2 separate regions of the Homo sapiens genome follow, and region 2 is linked to region 1. The links are contacts of gene promoters, found by promoter capture Hi-C in blood cells and fetal thymus (Javierre and others, 2016). All regions are on one chromosome and are shown on one strand. The core of a region is centred on a gene start or on the middle of the fragment in contact, and the rest is flanking DNA. Distances in the headings are between cores, read along the strand shown. Region 1 holds the start of C1QL2 (complement C1q like 2). Region 2 has its middle 89 kb from the start of MARCO.

Evidence for each region. The method cuts DNA at HindIII sites, captures the fragments that hold promoters and counts their contacts. A CHiCAGO score of 5 or more calls a contact.
Region 2: a contact is called between a fragment that was not itself captured here and the fragment with the promoter of C1QL2 in region 1, in 1 of 17 cell types (M2 macrophages). The highest score is 5.7, in M2 macrophages.

What each region holds. Positions count from the first base shown.
Region 1 is chr2:119,157,370-119,160,069 of GRCh38, forward strand. It overlaps C1QL2 (complement C1q like 2), which reads right to left and starts at 1,382. Exons shown (of 2, transcript NM_182528.4): 1 at 217-1,382. The coding sequence starts at 900. RefSeq lists an enhancer at 1-560. The HindIII fragment of the contact is 3,837 bases long and covers 1-2,700 here.
Region 2 is chr2:119,029,498-119,032,197 of GRCh38, forward strand. No RefSeq gene overlaps it. Among named protein-coding and RNA genes, the nearest start is that of MARCO, 89 kb to the left of the region's middle. The HindIII fragment of the contact is 3,264 bases long and covers 1-2,700 here.

The DNA.
Region 1 (2,700 bases), core at 132-2,631:
GGGGTCTCTGGGCTCTCAAGGCCCAACATTTGGCTCTACGTCCCGGTGAGCGCGGCCTCGGCGCATCGGGAAGCGGAGATACTGTGGCACCGAGGCGCGTTCATTCCCGGGGCTCGCAGGGTAGCCCGCGGGTGGAGAGAAAGGAGGCTGGTTCCCTGGGAGGTTCAGGGCGCGGGCGAGGGTTTACGGGGGCCGGTGAGTGTAGGGGTCACTGACCTGCCCGTTCTTGCAGAGGTCCGCCCACATGCTGGTGCCGTCGCCGCCGCGCATGAGGATGTGGTAGGTGAAGAAGTAGATGCCGCGTACCTGGCAGCTGAACTTGCCCGTGGTGGGGTCATAGTGATTGCCGAGGTTGGTGACCACGTCATCGAACTTCAGCACCTCATAGCCTTCGTGGGGGCTCTTGAGACCCACATAGAAGGCGATCTTGGGGCCGCTGAAGGTGGCGCTCAGCGCACTGGTCACTTCACCCTCGGAATCGCCACCTACCCCGGCCCCGCCGCCCACCACCCCGACGCCGCTGGCCGTGCCCGCCGTCAGTTGCAGCCCTGGCAGCCCGGGCCGCCCCGAGTCGCCCTTCTCTCCCGGAGGGCCCCTGGGTCCAGGCGGGCCCGGCTCTCCAGGGGGCCCCCGCGGCCCTGGCTTGCCCGGTCGCCCCGGGTCGCCCTTGGGTCCCTGGATGAAAGGAGGAGGAGGGTTGGCGCTGAGGTCCTGCATGACTTCCAGGGCGGCGGTGCTGGGTCCGGGTGGCTGCGCCTTTGCACCCGGGGGCTCCCCGCCGGGCGCGGCAGTGTAAGGGTCGCAGATCATGCGGCAGGTGCCCATCATCTCATAGTGCGCGGCGCCTCGGGGCGCCGCCTGCAGCAGCAGCGGCACGGCGATGAGCAGCCCGAGCGCCATGGCCAAGAGTACGCCGACGGCCGCCAGGCAGGCACGCCGCCGCCGCTGCCACAGCCGGGAGGCGACCGCCACCAGCTCCTCCTTGCCGCCCGGGGAGGTAATGGTGGGGCGGCGCGGGCGGCCCCGCTCCCCGCGCTCGGGGACCGGCTCCGCGGGTCCTGGCCGCGCCCCCGACGTGGCGACCCCCAGCCCCGGCTACCCAACTACTTCAGCGAGAGGCGCCGGGACCTCTGAGCCTGGGCCCACCGCGCTGGGGCTGGTCGGGAGAGCCGCGGACGCCCGCGCGCATGACGTGGGGCACACAAGACGAATCCGGCGCCCCGAGGGTCCGGCGCCGGCCAGGGAGTGCTTGCGCTGGCCGGGGAGTCTGCTTGCGGCGTCCGGCGCTGGCTCCGCGGCGCTGCCTCCCGCCAGGCTCCGCTCCGCTGGGTTTAGTGGGGCTCCTAGCGCAGTGAGGGCGCCCCGGCTCCGCGGCGCGCTCTGCTGTGCTCTCTCGCTGTTCGCTGGCTCCCGCGCGGAGGGGGGACCCCGCTACCCTGACGTAAGGAGTCCGGGGCTGAGCGGCGGAGGCGGCGAAGCAGCGCGCGCTGCCATCACTCGGGAGACGGAGCCCTCATGTCATCAGCCTCCTATCTGGCGGCGTCCTCGGCAGAGGCGGTGAAGGCGCGGTTCCCCCTGGCGGCTCCCAGGAGCCACAAGTGGGCGCAGCGGGCGCGGTCCCAAGCCGGGGCACATCGGACACACCCACCCGCGGCCACACTCACGCGCCCCCCACCGATAACACACACAGACACCCACGCACGCAGTGGCGGGGCACGCACAGCCACCCCCACATGGCCACGAAAGCAGCTGGAATCCAGGTGTCAGCAGGGCTCCTCTGGGGTCACCTAATCCATCCCCTGGCCTGCAAAGAGGATCAAACCTCAACCCACCGAGTCCAGGAGAGTCCCGTGAGGTCCAGCGGGAAGGAGTTTCTGAAAGACCTCCTGAGTTATTTCTTCAGAATTGAATAGATCTCGCTTCTGGAAGATCTTTCGCAAACCTAGACTAAGGACTCCAGACTCTTAAACAGGCTCCCGTAGAGCACCCCACTAACCTCTGAGGTGACTCTAAAAAGCCCAAGGCTCCCAATACAAGAATATTTGCGGCCGGGCGCAGTGGCTCACGCCTGTGATCCCAACACTTTGGGAGGCCGAAGCGGGCAGATCACCTGAGGTTGGGAGTTTGAGACCAGCCTGACCAACATGATGAAACCCCGTCTGTACTAAAAACACAAAATTAACTGGGCATGGTGGTGCATGCCCGTAATCCCAGCTACGCGGAAGGCTGAGGCAGGAGAGTCGCTTGAACCAGAGAGGCAGAGGTTGCGGTGAGGCGGGATCGTGCCATTGCACTCCAGCCTGGGCAACAAAAGCAAAAGTCCATCTCAAAAAAAAAAAAAAAAAAAAGGAATATTCGCCTCAGACCTTTTCTTCCACCAGAAAATGGCTGGCCCTTGTCCTCTGCGTGAAGCTGGTGTAGAAACCAAATGCTTGATGCCGGCACTTGGCAGTGATCATGGTGCACTCAGCTTCTACTCCAAGCCCGGCCACTGCCAGGCAGATGCATGGGCACATTCCCTTGGACATCCCCAGCTTCCTCCTCCTGAGATGGGTTTAGTTATTTTAGAAAATAGTCCAAATAGTCCAAAGCCATTCTGAGCCAGTCTTGAATAAACCATGGCCTCAGATGAGAGCAGAATAGTCTATCTCCAATGTAGCATGTGAGGCTAAGGAAGGATGAGAGGCCCGCCGGTGTGGG
Region 2 (2,700 bases), core at 52-2,551, 130 kb before region 1:
TTGCCTCAAGTGGAATGTGTTTGTCTCTTTTCTGCCTACAGCCCAGTTCTTACTGGCTGCACTGGCTGCTGAGTTAGCATGCTGATTTCAGCTACTCAATGAACAAAATACTTTACATGACTCTCATAAACACGGTGACAAAGGAGAAAGGCAGGAGGAAGGGATTCTCAGGAGAAGGCCACTTGTCTACAGCTCCCTTCCTCTCCATTAACAGATCTCATCAATTTGATTCTCCCAAGACAACCAGTCTCTGTGGCCATTGTGTGGCCTGTATGAGGCCATGGGTATCAGGTGAGTCATGGCCAAGGAAACCAACGTAGAACTCTCTCCTACAGGCCCCTTTGCAAGGATGGTAAGGCAGCAGGTCCTCCTGTAGGGAGCTGCCACCCTCCTCTCCCCCTGTTCTCATGTGCCTGGCCAAGAGAGAGAGTTGAATGAGTAGACTGAGTTTGCCCTGCTCCAGCAGCTGGGAGAATAGGAGCGGCCAAGAAAATGTCCTCCAGATGCCATACATGGTCACCCTCACTGCCGCTGCAGTGAGGGGACTGCTCCACCACTCACCACCAGTTCTGAAACTGCTGCTTTTTGTGAGATGCAGTAACAGGCCAAAAACTCAGGGGAGAATAAAGAAAAATACCAGCTCATCTGTAGTGGATGCTGTAATGTGTCACCCAGACTCTGCTACAGTAATGAAGGCTCCTCCCTCCCTCAGCTTCTGAGAGGCTCTTGGCAGATGGCACTCAATTGTCAGGCCTCTTTGGGAGTTGCCTTGGCATATCCAAGGCAGGCAATATCAAATGCCTCATTGATGCAGGGATATAAAAGTCCAGCCCTCTCACCTCAGTTCAAGACAACTCTGAAGAGTCCTAACAGCCTGGTGGCTCTTCATAGAGGGTGGCTTTGTGGAGGCAACCTGCCACACTCCAACATCTCCCTCTTCTCAACCCTGCTTTCTTTCCTTTTCCTCCAGGGATGGTCCCAAGAGAACTCCCTGATGTAGGGAGTGTCCTGTGCAGGACACTCTCCCACTTGCTCTCCTTCCTGGGGATCCCACCTGCAACAACGCTCAAGGTGTCCAGACTGAGGATGACCTATCAAAGTGCACACCGAGCCACAGAAGGCTGCTCTCTTAATCTTTCAATGTCCAACACAATTCAGCTGTGATATCACTGGGCCCTGGTTGTTGATTAAAAGGTAGTTTACTTTCTCTCTCTTCTGTCATAATAGGTCTTTTGAAGCGTTCCACTTCTTCTGAAGTCAATTGCGGAAACTTTTATTTGCTGGAAAATCATCCATTTCTTCTAGATTTTAAAATTATTGCCAAAAGTTACATATACTCTTCTCTTGTAAGTATTTTAATTTCTCTTGTATCTGTGGCTGTGTCTGCTTTCAAATACTTATCTCTGAGACTGAACAGAAAAACAGAGCACTTATTGGTAATCAAGAGCAGGACACACCCAAAAAGGCTTTCAAAAGCTAAAATGTGGATTTCCCAACTACACAGCATAACAAGTGAAGGAAAGAAAAATGTGGCTACTGTTGAGACCTGAATTGAGTCAAATGGAAGTAATATATGCCAACACACAGAGCAAAACTATAAGACGATGAAAATGATGAAGACAAAAGCAAGAGTTGGGGAATGGATGCATGAACCTAACATTCAAGTATTGTGGCTTCAGAAGGAAAAAAAGGGGCTATATAGCAAAAAGATAATAATTCAGTAACAGGAGAAAAATTCTGAATGGAGAAGAATGAATTCTCTGGAAATGTGAAATATTAATCTTAAATAATCTGGAAATTGAAGGGAGATATTTCAAGGGAAATTCTTACAATAGCCTAAAACTAATAGCACGAAACAATTTCAGCAACACTATTTCAGCAGGGGCAGTGGGAGGGGAAGGAGGTTAGAGACATTCCAAATGTCCATCTCAGGACTGAGAGAAGGAGGGATGAAGGGGAGGATAACAGAGGAAGGTGTTCTAGTGGTCTCATCCCATGCGGGGAGGAAGGGGAGAAAGCTGTGGCAATGTCATACCTGGTGAAATAGTTGGTATCTTGTTTCAAAGAACAATAGAGAACTATATGTTTGATTATGAGTACAAGGAAATAGAAACCATTAATAAAATTTAACAGTTTTGCTAGACACTACACATTAAAAGATGAGTAACAATTTGACCAAACCAATGGGAAATAAGGGGAAAAAAGCAATTTAAAATAAAGTACAAATATAAAACAATAGGAAACAGAAAAGACAGGCAAGTACATTATTAAACATATAAATTATTAAATATGTGAACAAACTGAATCATCTCGTCAAAAGATACAGCTTATTCAGAGAGGGTTAAAAACCAAAAGCAGGCTGAACATAGTGGTTCACGCTTGTAATCAGCATTTTGGGAGGCTGAGGTGGGAACATTCCTTGTAGCCAGACCTACAAAACCAGCCTGGGTAACACAGTGAGACCCCATCTCTACAAAAATAAAATAAATAGCTGAGTGCGGTGGCACACACCTTTATCCCCAGCTACTCAGGATGCTGAGGCAGGAAGATCACTTGAGTCCAGGAGTTTGAGGCTGCAGTGAGCTATGATGCAGTTTCATTGCACTCCAACTTGGGTAAGAAAGTGAGACCGTGTTTCAAAAAAAGAAAAAAGAAAAGAAAAAACCTACAACATTTATACCCTTAAGGGTATAGATACAC